Linked DNA regions of Homo sapiens: region 2 is linked to region 1. Evidence: promoter capture Hi-C in human tissues and cell types (Jung and others, 2019). All regions are on one chromosome and are shown on one strand. The core of a region is centred on a gene start or on the middle of the fragment in contact, and the rest is flanking DNA. Distances in the headings are between cores, read along the strand shown. Region 1 holds the start of TMEFF2 (transmembrane protein with EGF like and two follistatin like domains 2). Region 2 overlaps NABP1 (nucleic acid binding protein 1).

Region 1 (7,111 bases), core at 2,066-4,565:
TAAAAATAACATGTTCTATCCTACATGGCACAATGCCTGACACCTAAGAAGCAAAGGATACATCTTACCTTTATTGAAGCAATCAGAAAGTATGAAATCATGAAGGAGATAAGAGTTCTGATTGGCAGTGTATCTTATTTTCCCAGGTTCATTTATTTATCTTAAACTATTCTTGTTGGAGAATAACTCCCAAGCCCCCTACTTAAGCTGTGAGTAATCTCACACTTTATAATGATGTTCTTTCCATGAGAAAAAAAAATGTTCTTAAGTTTTCTGGAGAAAATATATCTGCACTATTTCTACTGAAAAATCTAACAACTGGACTCTGCTCCTCTGCATCAATTCTAGAGTGTATATGCCACAAATAAAGTGTTCTAGCTCAAGAAGATTGAAAGTAAATATGGTATAGTATTTTAAAATAAGAATTTTGCAAATACATGGTATGATTGTGTCATATTACTAGCAATCATATGATACGCAATGCAAAGTACAGTTCATAGACTTAAATTTAATTCTAATAAGTAAACTGATTTTGCCTTGCTGGGGAAAAGTTAAAGCACTAATCCAATTGCTAATGCAGTCTTGTCTACTTCTTTGGTACCTAGTGACAAGTCTAAATAATGTATATATTTTTATTTACATATTCAGTAATACAATTCTCTGCTCAATGAGTGATGTTCTTCTGCCACTTGGTGGTGCTTGCCAGTTTCAGAATTTGTTTCTTGGTGGCACTATAACACTAAGTACAGAGTAAGTGCAACAAAATTGCAGCATTCCCATTGAAAAGGCTTTGCTTCAAACTGTTTAATAATTTAAAGGACCTCTGTGGAAGCAACCGCATTTGTTAACCAGTTACAACCAGTAATTAACTCCTTTGGAGTTTTAACTTACTTTTGGCAAAACGTCTTAGGAAGAGCATATATTATTAGAAAGTATGCCAAAAATTTACTTAGCAGAAAATTCAAAAACAGTTTTCCTCTGCTAAGAGGTTCTCTAAAATTCTACTTACATAGCCAAACTCTGAAATCCTAGCAGGTCCTGTTTCATTATCATAATTACTGCATAAACACTTTTAAGGACTTTGCCTTTAGTTTCAAGCATGACTTATTTTCATAAGCCTGATTAGTTACCACACCAGCCTTGCTATGGAAAATGACATGTTCTCATTCTCTGCTGTAGAGTTGTTAAATCTTGATCTATATTTATGTTGCCTTCTCTGCTGAAAGCCTGTAGCGAAAGAAATTTCTAATTCCTTGTTTTGCAATATTAGTTGGCAGCTCTATCTAATGGGTATTCTGTTTCCTTAAAGAATTTAGCTGCTCTGTCTAGAAGCCGATTTTCTGATGCCTCCAACGTCTGGTCTAATTGATCTGTTTTAATGGAGTCTTCGTCGGTGAGGAGCGAGATGCCACCGACTAGAATGCTGGGATCTGCTGCTTAATTGCCAGGAGTGAGAGACACTGAGATTCAGAAATCTTTGGAGGTGGGAGGGGAGAGGGACAGTCTCGGACGGAGGCGGAGATGTAAGATAAAGGGATGGATTTCACACAGGAAAAAAAAAAAGATTTCGTTGAGGCACTGAGGTGCTGCACGATCACATCTCTCAAAGGAGAAGTTAAAAAGCAAGGAAGTGGGAGGAGGTTGGAGGTTAAAGTACTTAAAAGGATTACTCGGGTACAATTTGTTTTTCTGCTGGTGTCTGCAAAGGATAGATAGTCCCGTTTTCAAAGTATATGAATGCCTCTTTTAAGTGATTGGGAATGGACACTAATTGCCTGTTAAATGTTATCAAATGCTCTCCTAAATTCAGGGGACACAGAAAGAGGGGCACAAAAGGAGAATTTAAATAGAAAAAGGGAGGATCCGGAGGCTTTTGAAAGCGGGGGGAGAAGAAGGAGGAGGGATAACAGAGAGGAATAGAGAAGGAGAGCGGAGAGAAGATAAACAAAAACAAAAACAGGAATCACTGAATAATCACACACCAAAAAGAAAGCTCTTCCCTATGGGGCATCCAAAACACTGAGACTGCAATAGTGACCCCGGTCATGGAAGAAAGATGTTCCTCTCCACCCTTGTCCCCGAAAGCTCTTGGTCCCGTTACTGGCGACTAAAATTCCATTAGGCTAAAGAGTGTGTCTAACTGCCTGAAGAATGCAGCAGACGGAAGGCGGGTCCCGCTATGCCGTTTGCCCTTCCCGCTGGAGAGAATGAAAGAAACGCGCAGAGCCAGAGACTCCTGCCGAGTTAGACCTTCTCTCGTCGCCCCAGGTCACCGGCCATCCGGCAAAGACCCGAGTAAGGAACGCAGGGTCACTGCCTGGGCCAACAAATGGAGCCCGCTCTCCCCTTCCCGGACGCCGCTGCCCGGCCGATGCTCCCGGCAACCCACCCGCGGCGTATGCAGAGGAGCCTTTCTCTTTCTCTCAGACCACTTGTCCCGACCAATCTGACCTTCCAAACACATCTGACCGCACCTCCCAGGTGGACACACTAATAGGCTACGGGCTGGAGAGGAGCGGGTGATGAGGAGAGGGATTCAAACCTGCGAACGCTTGGGCTGGGTCGGAGCTGCGGGGGGCCTGGGAGGAGAGAGGGGAGAAGAGAGAAGGAAGGAGAGCGCCTGCCGGGATGGCTGAGCTGCCTCGGCGAGCAGCCTTGGGGTTGCACGCTCTTGTGGGAGATGCTGCTGTTGCTTCCAGGTCGGCAAGAGCGGTTCTAACACCATCGCCTCTCACCCTCTTTCCTGTAAATCCCTAGAGAAACGTCCCTGGCCTCTCCGCCGCGACATTCCCAGCCTGCATCCCCCTACAGCCTAGGCGGCGCGCTCCCGCACGCTGGAGCGCCGGTCGCCAGCAGGACGCCCTCTCCCGCGCCGACTCGCCCCTCTCTGCCCTGCTGCTGCTGCTCCTCTGACACCTCCGCCCCCACCATCTCCAGCTCGGAGAGACGCCACCCAGCCGCGGCCCGCACTCGCGGCCCGGGGTCACGCGCGGAAGAGGGGCGCTAGTCCGGACCCCGCCTTCGGTAGGGGGCGTCCTGGAGCGGAGAGTGAGGCGAATGGTATATGAGTGTGCGGGTAGCCCACCCTGAAGCCCGAGCTTCTCATTTGAGCCATCCCCGCCTAGCCCCACTCGGGCCAGCGCCTGGCGAGCGAGCCCATCTGTGGCTTCCGCGGCCGCCTCCTCCTTGCATCCTTGCACCTCCTCGTCGACCCCTCCCTCCCGGGACCTGCATCCTGCTCCACCAATCAGAGCCCGACTGCCTCTTCCCACGTGACCCCGGGCGGGCTGAGGACCTGCTGCTTCCCAAACGCCAGAGGGATGCGGGCGGCAGAGCTCGAGAGGCGGCTGCCGGGCTGCGGGGCGCCTTGACTCTCCCTCCACCCTGCCTCCTCGGGCTCCACTCGTCTGCCCCTGGACTCCCGTCTCCTCCTGTCCTCCGGCTTCCCAGAGCTCCCTCCTTATGGCAGCAGCTTCCCGCGTCTCCGGCGCAGCTTCTCAGCGGACGACCCTCTCGCTCCGGGGCTGAGCCCAGTCCCTGGATGTTGCTGAAACTCTCGAGATCATGCGCGGGTTTGGCTGCTGCTTCCCCGCCGGGTGCCACTGCCACCGCCGCCGCCTCTGCTGCCGCCGTCCGCGGGATGCTCAGTAGCCCGCTGCCCGGCCCCCGCGATCCTGTGTTCCTCGGAAGCCGTTTGCTGCTGCAGAGTTGCACGAACTAGTCATGGTGCTGTGGGAGTCCCCGCGGCAGTGCAGCAGCTGGACACTTTGCGAGGGCTTTTGCTGGCTGCTGCTGCTGCCCGTCATGCTACTCATCGTAGCCCGCCCGGTGAAGCTCGCTGCTTTCCCTACCTCCTTAAGTGACTGCCAAACGCCCACCGGCTGGAATTGCTCTGGTAAGTCCAGAACCCCCGTCCCCGACCCTTTAACTCCGCAGAAGAACACGCGTATCCAGCACAGACCAGCCTACCCTAGCGCGCCTCCTCAGCCCCTCACCTCCTACTGCCCTAGACCCCTAATACCACCCACCTCTATCCAGAGAAACAAGGGGAACTGTTGCAGGCCCGGGGGTGAGGGGTGGTTCTGGGATGGGCAGAAAGTGCAGGTGTAGCAGGAAACCTTTGCATGCTTGCGCTTACATTGGAGCTGCGAGGATTTTGAGAAATATTAAACGGGATGGTTTTCTGGGTTCACTGTTTTGAAAGAGCACCAATCCTAGGGGAAACACTGAAACAGAAGCTTTGTCATCATTAAAGAAAAAAGTCTTACTAGGATGAGGAAGAAATAACTTTATGAGAAAGAATGAGCGAGAAAGCAATAAATCAAATGGTGACTGCAGGGGAATCGCTGATTCCTGGCAAAGGTGCCATGAGGTCGCACTGGTCTCCCGTTGAAGACCAGGTCACACAGATTCTAGAGGAGCTGGGTTTCAATAGAATTTCTCTCTCTCTCTCTCTCTCTCTCTCTCTCTCTCTCTCTCTCTCTCTATCTATCTATCTCTCTCTCTCTCTCATTCCCTTCTCTCCTAGGCGGCAAAAGACATTGGTTTTGCAGTCCAGATATGCCCCTCTCTTTGCTTCCCTAAGCTTCAAGGTAGTACAGGGGAGTTGAGAAAAAGAACACTTTGCGGGTCTCCCAGGCCGGAGTGGGCATGACTGAGGCTGGTCAGGCTCCATGTAGGCGAGCCGAGGGCGGAACCGACTTCAGTGGGCGCTGACTCCTCCATTTCTGGACAGGCTTCTGTGGAGTGGGTCAGGCACTCTTCTTGCTCGCTCGGGTTCCTTCAGATTCTGACGGCGAACGCTTGGCAGGCTTCGCTCTGCTGAAGCTTCCTAATTAAATAGGGCCAGAGGATGGGAGTTGCTGCACTCCTAGCTGGCATAGCATTTCGGTTTGACAGCCTGTAGTATACTGGGCAGAATTGTGGTGTAATTTCCTTGGCATTTTAAACTCCGTTAACATGCCTGGGTATTGTCCCCTAGGTGTGGTCTGTTCTAGTTTTAGCAAGTGTGTATGTAATTTTTCATCTTCTGTGAATATAATTTTGCTGTAGTTAAATCTGGCTCTGAATAAAGTGTCTTTCAAAGATGTATATAAGCTGAAGTGTATGTAACTTTAGAGAGGAGGGAATGACCAACTGTAACTCAGGGTGAAAGCCTGTATAGTTCCTAGTTATTACTGATGTAAATGCCAAAAGGAAAATTATTATGCATCATTCTAATTTATCCTTTACAAAGACAAGTTGAGATATGCAACCCTATTAGATTTGGGTCAATAGATTGTTCTCTTTTTTGGCAGTTTCTAAATTTGGCATTTTAATAAAACTCAACATGTTTCTATAACTTCTTGATTCATGCGTACATGTGTGTTGTTTTTGAAAGAATAAGTTTCACTTTGCTATTGCCTAATCACTTTTTAGATGCTTTATTATGGTAATAATTATGAGCCTGCAAAAACAATTTTTGGAAATGTTGATGGCTTTGTAGTCCAACACAGACTGGTTTGCTTCATTCCTAGCCCTTGCATTGTTTTAGGAAATAACTAACTTAAATGTGAAGTTGACATTTGCAATCAAGAAATTACATATTTACCAGATATTTTAAAGGGGACTGCATAAACTAAAGAGAATAAACTGGTTTTGCAGATAGGTTGTCAAGAACTTGGCACCCCGCTTCCACCCCTGTTAACTTAGAGGTGATCAATCTTCATTTGAGCCAAACAGACCATCACAGAAAACACTGTGCCTGTTTATCTTTATTATTGAGGCTTTGTTTCCTCTTTGTCTGGATACATTTCAAATAAGGGGTTGTTTCAGTCGTTGAAGCAAAAGAACAATTAAAGATGGGGAAATGGTAAAAGGGTATTCAGAGATCATCACTAGCTCTTTTCCAAAATGTGGAGTTTTGTGGTCATAAATATTGTCCACCTAATGAGCAAAAAATAAAAATAAAAAAAAAACAGGAAGCAAATGTTAAGCTTTCATTCACCACTGTCAGTATTAACGCAAGCTTTAAAAAATAGCACTATCAGAAAAGGATACTAAAGGAGAATTGACTAGAAAAGAATTGTGGAAAATGGAAACGAATATTGATCACTTAACTAGATTTTGAGGTTATCAGTAGACAGTGACCTTGCAGTACAGCTATAGTTGTTGGATTTAAAATTTAGGACAAGTATTTTAAAGCTTCAAAGTAGTGCTTTTTTTTGTTAAAAATCTGTAAGATGTTTTAATGACTGGAGTGTTCTCTTTGAATTTGAGGTTATGATGACAGAGAAAATGATCTCTTCCTCTGTGACACCAACACCTGTAAATTTGATGGGGAATGTTTAAGAATTGGAGACACTGTGACTTGCGTCTGTCAGTTCAAGGTAAGAAGTCTTATATTTGCATCTTCTAATTCATTAATGAGACTGCAAAGCAGGAATCTTCCTTTACAGCCTATCACTTGGAAATTTATAGCTATGCAAGCTAAGAGGGAAGCTGGCACCAAGCAAAAGTACTAGCAAGAGAGCCAACTGATGTCAAGAAGACATACGCTTTTTGGAGAAATGTATATGCCAAAGTTATAAATGCTGCTGGAGGTAGAAAGCTTCAGGTTGTGCTTTTGGGATGTCAAAGGAAAATTATGTTTCTCTGACCCTTCTAGCATCACTTTAAAAGTGAATTGACTGGGGATAATAGTCAAAATAGGGGGTAAGAAGTGTGGACTTATTCTTTTGTTCTTTTTGATTGGGGCTATCATCTTTTTATCTTATTGCTATCTGTTTTAATGGTCTTGGCCTTTATTATCCTTGCAACCTGACTAGGTTTTTAAGGTAACTCCTTATTAGTGTAACCTCAACACTTTGTTCTAATTTGGAAATCATGGAACTTATTAATTAGTGTATATCAGCTTTTTCATAGATACCACACTCAATTAGAACTGAATCCCCTAGGAATCCAGAAGAGCATTTAGATCCACAAGTCATTTTATGAACATCAGGAAATGTACTTTTTCTTGTGTTAATTTCTTTTAACTAACAAAGAGAGAAAGAAGTTGCACTACTGGCATGATCAAAACTGGGTTATTAGTATCTATTAAAGATAGAACTTTTAGTGTCATTAGTATAGT
Region 2 (7,111 bases), core at 3,948-6,447, 510 kb after region 1:
CAAACAAAGCCAAATTATAATCATGAATATGCATATGAACAAAGGAAAAAAATTTCTATAATTTTTGTAACCCCAGTTACAAAAGTACTATAGACCACAAATAAACTTGTGGAGATTATTCGGTATTTTGTCTACCCCTTAACACTTTCCACACAGTGCCTAATACATAGTGTGTACTGAAATATTTGTTAAACACAGTGAATTAGGGCAAACAATCTGGCACAACTTTTTGTATTCAAATGCTATGGAGTTTTCAGAAAACAAAATCTACTTATTTTGTGATTTGAAGTGGAAAAAAAACAAAGCAACAAATGCAGAGCTAAGTAACCATGAGGTTGATACCATCACTACAACAGTAGTTAAGATGTACTGGCTCTCCACTGTAAGTCATTGAAAGGGCAAAAATTACGTAGGTTTGTTAACATTAACACATGCTTTATTCAAGAGATAATATTCAAAGAGTTAAATCCTAAGAGTTATCCACCCTACAGTAAAAAGGGGAAGTGGGTACCACTTATGACATGTACATAAATTCCACTTTTATATTTCTGAATAAAGCTGCAATTGCTTCTTTGATAGAGCCATTTCTTAAAACTTTTGCTAATAAGGCTATGTGAACTGTGTTCAGAAACTTTGACAACATGCACACTCACTCCTCTCAAAGTCAGTACCCAGGATTTTCACTCCAGGCTGAGTACCTATTAAGTAACTAGGACTTCAGACTGCATGTTACTATATGAATTCAATTTGACTCACCTCCAGTATGTTTATCTACCACAACTATTGTTTAAAATAATCAGATGAATGTTTATCATAACTTTATAACTCCCCCAAATTATACTTCAGTATTTAACATGGTAGTTTCAAAAAATAAATATTCAAGGCCCCAGTTTTAAATTTTCCTCCAATGTAATCCACAAAGTTGATAATACATGTTAGGAGCACTACTCTAAAATAAATGTAGCTTTCTTTTAAAATTACTTGTTGCAATAGAGATCACATTCTATTCCAAATTCTGATAAGGAATCTGTTTTTTTGGTAATACAACAAAAATTTGGGATGAGTCAGTCCTTGGAAAATCTTAATAGTAGTCACTGAACGAAGTCAATCATTCCGAGAGCCACAAACACTCAAAAATTACTGCTAGCATTGACAAGTTCTTGTGTTTTTTGATGGTTATTGCTTTAGTTGGCAATATCTGAATACAAGACAAAAGAACATCTCCCATTAAGCCTTATGTTAAATATTACAAAACTTATACAGAAGATAGACTCATAGAGGCTATAAAGCTGATGTCTTAAGTAACTCACCCATGAAATGGGTGCAGGTTTTTTAAAGGCTATCCAATAATCTTTTTACTCTAAAAATAAATGCCCCTACTTTTCAGTGTTCCCATTCTTCAACAGGAGACTCGAGCAGCTTAACAGTTTTGCTATAAAAACAAACCATTCTTCTTAACAAACCAAGAATATAAAAGGAAACCCAATAAAGGACGTACTTTTCACAGTTAACAATAAATAAAAGTGCAATAAGTGTTCAAGTAGGGCATGTAGTATAAAAACTACACATGAGTATTTAGCATAGGTCATCTTTTAAAGGCTCTCCGAGGGTCCCTGCCATTACTTATTGTGGTCATCACTGTTTGATTACTAGCTGTTCCTTGTAGTTGTGGATTTATAAGTCCCCGGCCATTGCTTCTGCCAGCATGTGAAAACTGGTGTTCCCTTGATTCAGGGCCAGTGTGAACACCATTTCCTAAAAAAGAATACAAAAATTCATCACTATTTTCAGAGGTAGTCTATAGAAGTAGAACTATCTTAAGTGCCAACATGTTATTAATGCTTAAAAATATTAAAGCACACACTTTTATTTTTATACAGAAAAAAAAAACAATGTGGGCTCTAAGTTTTTCCAAATGTATTGCTATAAATATGCTAACTTGATGCTGTATTAATAGAGAGAAAAAAGCCAACTTGGGCATCAAAATTAGAAATTAATAGAGTAAAAAAATGCATTGCCTACACTATAAAAGAAAAAGAAAGGGCAAAATAGTGAATATTGGAATTTGGCTCAAATATGATTAATATCTCAAAACAGACAATGTTATTCTAACTTTTTAAAGGCAAAGGCAGCGTTTCCCACAATGTGATCAGCAATGCCAAGACATGTAGCCTTCGAGTCAAATAAAACATGAGCTGGCCAGGTTCAGTGGCTCACGCCTGTATGTAATCCCAGCACTTTAGGACGCCGAGGCAGGTGGATCATTTGAGGTCAGGAGTTCGAGACTAGCCTGGCCCATATGGTGAAATCCCATCTCTATTAAAAATATAAAAATTAGCTGGGTGGTAGTGGTGCACATCTGTAATCCCAGCTACTTGGGAGGCTGAGGCAGGAGAATCACTTGAGCCTGCGAGGTGGAGGTTGCGATGAGCCAAGATCACGCCACTGCACTCCAGTCTGGGCAACAGCGTAAGACCCTGTCTCAAAAACAAAACAAAACCAAAACATGAGCCATCCTAATGAACTCTAATCACAAAAGACTGACTTTTCCTCATATATTTAAGAAAAAAGACTTCAGAAGACCTTTAACAGAGCTACAAGGATCATGAACATGATGTCTGGGGGTCATGTTAAATGACATCTGAGGGTCACTAGCCTTTAAACGGCTCAGCTCATCTTTTAAAGCAGCAGCTACTTGTATGTGAAAAATTAAGGTGAACTATGACTCTAAAGATAAAACGCTTTCAGTGCACCAAAATAACCAGTAATTCTGCATCTACTATAAGTAATCACTAGATTATAGAAATTTTATAGGAATCAATAAAAAAAAAATAGCATGGTATCTCTTCACGGACATCACAAAAACTTAGAATTCTCAATAAACTGGCTTAAGTTTATCAACTTTCTAGAAAATCAGCCCTTTGGGGATTCCCTGTTTACTGGTAGTTCACCTTTATCACTAATTTATGCCTAAAGACGTTGCTTTTCACGTGAATCTTTACAGCTCTCTTCATTCTTATACCTGATCACAAATGAAACACACAAACAAAATCTTACCCACTGGTCCAAATGTACCTGTACCCATATTACTATTCATGGAATTATTCTTCTGTTCACTCTGTGCCTAAAAAAAAGTTTTTAATTTAACCAAACGAGAATAAAAACACAATTATATTATTACAACATTATTATATCCTTTCTTTTTTAAAGTTTTGGGTTTGGCTTTTTTTTTTTTTTTAATTAACAAATTTTTTAAAGATTTTTCCTAGGTCATTAAAGGTTATAATGTTAAGAAACGTTTCCCAAACCTTTCAGAGCTCTGTTACATCCTATTTCCTGATAATTACTCAGCACACCACAAAGTGCAAAATGGCACATATATCTAGTAGATGACACCTCAGATACATATCCTCACAAAACATACAATAAAAATTAAGTATCCTTTTAAAAATTATCTTCTTTATACTAAGTATCAACAGGGCTAGCCTAATCATAGAATTATAACACAGTCAAAATTAGCCTAATCATAAAAGTATACTACACAATTACCCCTTTGTTCTGCTGTCCTCGATAATCTGGGTTGGGTTCACTGAAATTTGGCACTTCTGAATAAACCATACAAAATCTGAAAGAAAATAAAGAAAAAATTAAATGACTTCTGAAATAAAGTCCTCAACCCTTCTTTATGTAACATCTCTAACTTTTAGGAATGAACTTATGTGTCAAACAAATTAATAGCAACAAACTAACTCTTCATTTACAACAAAAACTTCCCAAATGATTATGTCCCATAAAACATCAAATATTTGACTGTCTACAAGATATATAACATTCTATTTTGTATTTAAATTCTTCTTTAGTGCTGAAAAAAAAATCACATCAAAAATCAAGGACACAAAAACATCTCTGTCCTGTTTTTCCACAAAAGCTGATCAAAGGAAAAATAACATGAGAGTGAACCATGTTTAGGGTTCCAGGGTGGTTTCTCCAGCAGTGGTAATGGATTTGCACCGATCCATTCACCCACTCCCATTCAGTCCCTCTTTTGATCGATCACTGTGGATCTGCAAAGATAATCATTTAGGGTTAAGAGTGGTTTCTAGGCAATAAATAATAACAACAGGCTACATAGCCACCAGTTTATCCAAGTGCTTCCTGTAAGTTGACCATATAATGTGTACTAACATTACAAAGAAGCATTTTATTACTCCTCACCATACTGAAGACAAATCAGAACCAGTTTTGGTAAATCCTCGACTGACCCTGACAAAGAGCAGTCATTAAGAAATGAGTGACCTCTAACGGTTTTTCACGTAACTGACCTCCATTATTATCAACACCTCTGTATGAATACATGAAGGTCAGGACAGAATCCTGAACCTTTCAGTAACAGACACTAAGACCTTTCATAACACATAACTCTATTAATGCTACTCTAAGTGAATCCTAACTTCCCTTCTAACAAAGGCAAAGCGTTAAGTGTTTCTGATCTTTAAAAGCTAGCATGATCATTTCTTTTCCTTCATTATTAACCACAGGTTCTCCAAATAAGCATCTTATTCCCTCAGTGGCAAACAGTTTTCCTTTTTTATCTGGTGCCATTTGTGGCTTCTCTTTTTAAATATCTTCCAATTTGACAGGCATTAAGTAGATGGCAGAGCATTAACCAAACAGAATGGACTGATGATTTGGCTCATTGCCTGTACCATACTTTATGAATACAACCCAATGTCTAGGCTAACATGGAGGCTGAATTACCTTACACCCCTAGAGAGGATGGCTCCTCCAGGTCAGGGTGGAGATCATTACCAGGGTAGTAGTGTATGGAATCTCGCATTGCGGCTGCCTGCACCGCACCTAGACTGTGGATAAATAGAGGACTTCAGTTTTCGTTGCTGCAAGTCCTTTTTAACATGAGTACATATTCACCCATAACCATAGAAAAAGAAAATTTAAACTTATGGCCTGAAACTTGGTGAATCACTAGCTTCGTATATGGTGAATCACTACAAAAGAGAATCTACTTCAAATGGCTCTTGTGACACCTAAAAAATGCACATTTCTAAAACCTACAGAAATGCTTCCACTAGGGCTGGTCTCAACTGCAGCTTCTTCTACTGCTCTTTGCCAGGAAAAATTGACACTTTTAACCACAGAAAACAGTACTGACAAGTGTTAAATTTGTATACACGAAGTTATTTTTTCAATTAAGCTACCAAAGACATTCAGTTTACTAGTCAAAAAAGCCAAAGAGGTTTACAATTCATACCTACCAATCATTCCGTAGATATTATTTATAATATATGCAATTATACAAAATGCATTTTAATACTTACTCCCCAATTTTTTGAAGTTCACCACCCCTTCCAGTATAAAGTGTCAGACATCCTTTCCACATGGATGCATACCTAGAGAGAAAAGAAACATTAATTCTTTAGAAATATATTTATTTTCTTCTATTTAAATCAAGTAAATCTTCACACTATATATTTTTTGTATTAAGGTAGAAGTGAGGATCAAGCCCTCTCTATCCACCATAGTAAATCAAATACAATAAATCTAACTTTGATAACTTGCTATTTACAAAAGAATACAAAAATTCTGTCGAATTTTGACATAATTATCTAAATCATAACAAATTCTGGAAAATAAGTCTTTTCGCAAAGCCAGTATTATTATACCCAATGATCACATCTTTAGTCAATTAACAAAACAAAAGCTTTTAATTGCAGAAATTTAAACAGAAACTATTTTTCAGCCACAAGATATGTAAAATCATCCTAATGTTTCATTTACAGTCTAGTCAAATAATGATATAACAGTTTTCCTTCTGCCTCCATAAAAGACACAGGATTCCTAAGCTACCGAAGATCTGGTAGAATTTCAAAGTGCTAAAAAAAACACTAAGGTCACAAAGCTTCACCTATCTGCCTTTCCAAACATGTGATTTTTAATACCATGCTGGGTTTGTAGTAAACAAACTGGCAAATGTTTACTCCGAACAATTTTGAAAGCAGACAGCATCACTACATAAAATAATCCTAGATATCTAAGAAAAAGGTAAATTAATATTATAAAATCAATCCAAGGTTTGGTTCTCAATGGTTCTCTGTACAACTACTATGGTAACTTCATGACTTTAACTTACTATACAGTTCTCTTTACTTTAATTAAAGGGTTATTTATTAAAGACACCATTCACCACTCTTAAGTTATACAAAGAGTGGCTTAGGATACAGTGCATTAACATTTCACCTTACTAAAATAAAAATTAACCCATATTTTGAGAAAAAATTTGGTTACAATTAAAATATTTAACATTCACTTTAAGAAATGAGAACACTGAGGTAAGTTTTCAGGGTATTCTGATAAACATGTTGATATTTGAACCATTATTTAGATGTTAGGTATGTTTTTCTTCAAAAGCTACTTTTCTTAGATTCAACCAGAATTTAAGGGCCTTAGAATGAGCCAGACTCCAAGCTGAGTGTGTTGTTTTGGTAAATAAGGTATAATTATTCCCATTTCACAGAAGAGGAAGCTGAAGTATGAGGTGTAGTAACTTCTCAAGGTCATACTGAAGTAGTAAATAGAGTTTCTATAGTTTTTAATTTTCGTTTAAATTGTACTCCCAGGTAATTGTTCCCCTTAAAATTCTATAGTACCTAACTAATAAGTTTAATTTTCCAATAATTTTTTTGATGGAAACACCTATGACTGTCACTACAGAACATGAAATACTTGAAATAAGATGCCGTTTTTAGCGTAAAAAATACTTTCAATCATTGGGTGAAAAATATTTGGGGAGCCAAAAACTCCAATTATACTAATCAATCCTCACCATACTTCCCTAAGAAGGAATTCTCTTTTGTTTTTTAAAGATGTGGAAGTTTAAATTACTGTCATGAGTCAGTGTATGAGAAGAAAATGTCTAAGTCCTGACTCTCACTTCCTGCTTTGATGACACTTTACCTCACTTCCTGAAGATGTTGTAAGCCTGCAAGGTAACACCAAGGAGCTCTAAGCTCCTACTCTCAGTGCTTTCCAATACTTCTAAGATTCTACTTATTAGGCCAACATCAATCTCCACCACTTTCCCTGCAGTTAATGA

What was found. Contacts are between HindIII fragments. The study calls those that stand out against the background at their distance.
Region 2: a fragment that was not itself captured here is called in contact with the fragment with the promoter of TMEFF2 in region 1 in 1 of the 25 tissues and cell types used here (hippocampus).

Annotation. Positions count from the first base shown.
Region 1 is chr2:192,191,137-192,198,247 of GRCh38, reverse strand. TMEFF2 (transmembrane protein with EGF like and two follistatin like domains 2) reads left to right here and starts at 3,315. Exons shown (of 10, transcript NM_016192.4): 1 at 3,315-3,895; 2 at 6,259-6,368. The coding sequence starts at 3,724. RefSeq lists an enhancer at 2,794-3,369. The HindIII fragment of the contact is 5,375 bases long and covers 1-4,412 here.
Region 2 is chr2:191,680,243-191,687,353 of GRCh38, reverse strand. It overlaps NABP1 (nucleic acid binding protein 1), which reads right to left. Exons shown (of 6, transcript NM_001031716.5): 3 at 5,337-5,408; 4 at 3,550-3,625; 5 at 3,058-3,124; 6 at 411-1,755. The coding sequence ends at 1,586. LOC124900605 (a long non-coding RNA gene) reads right to left here and starts at 68. Exons shown (of 3, transcript XR_007088697.1): 1 at 1-68. RefSeq lists an enhancer at 6,848-7,111. The HindIII fragment of the contact is 5,545 bases long and covers 2,425-7,111 here.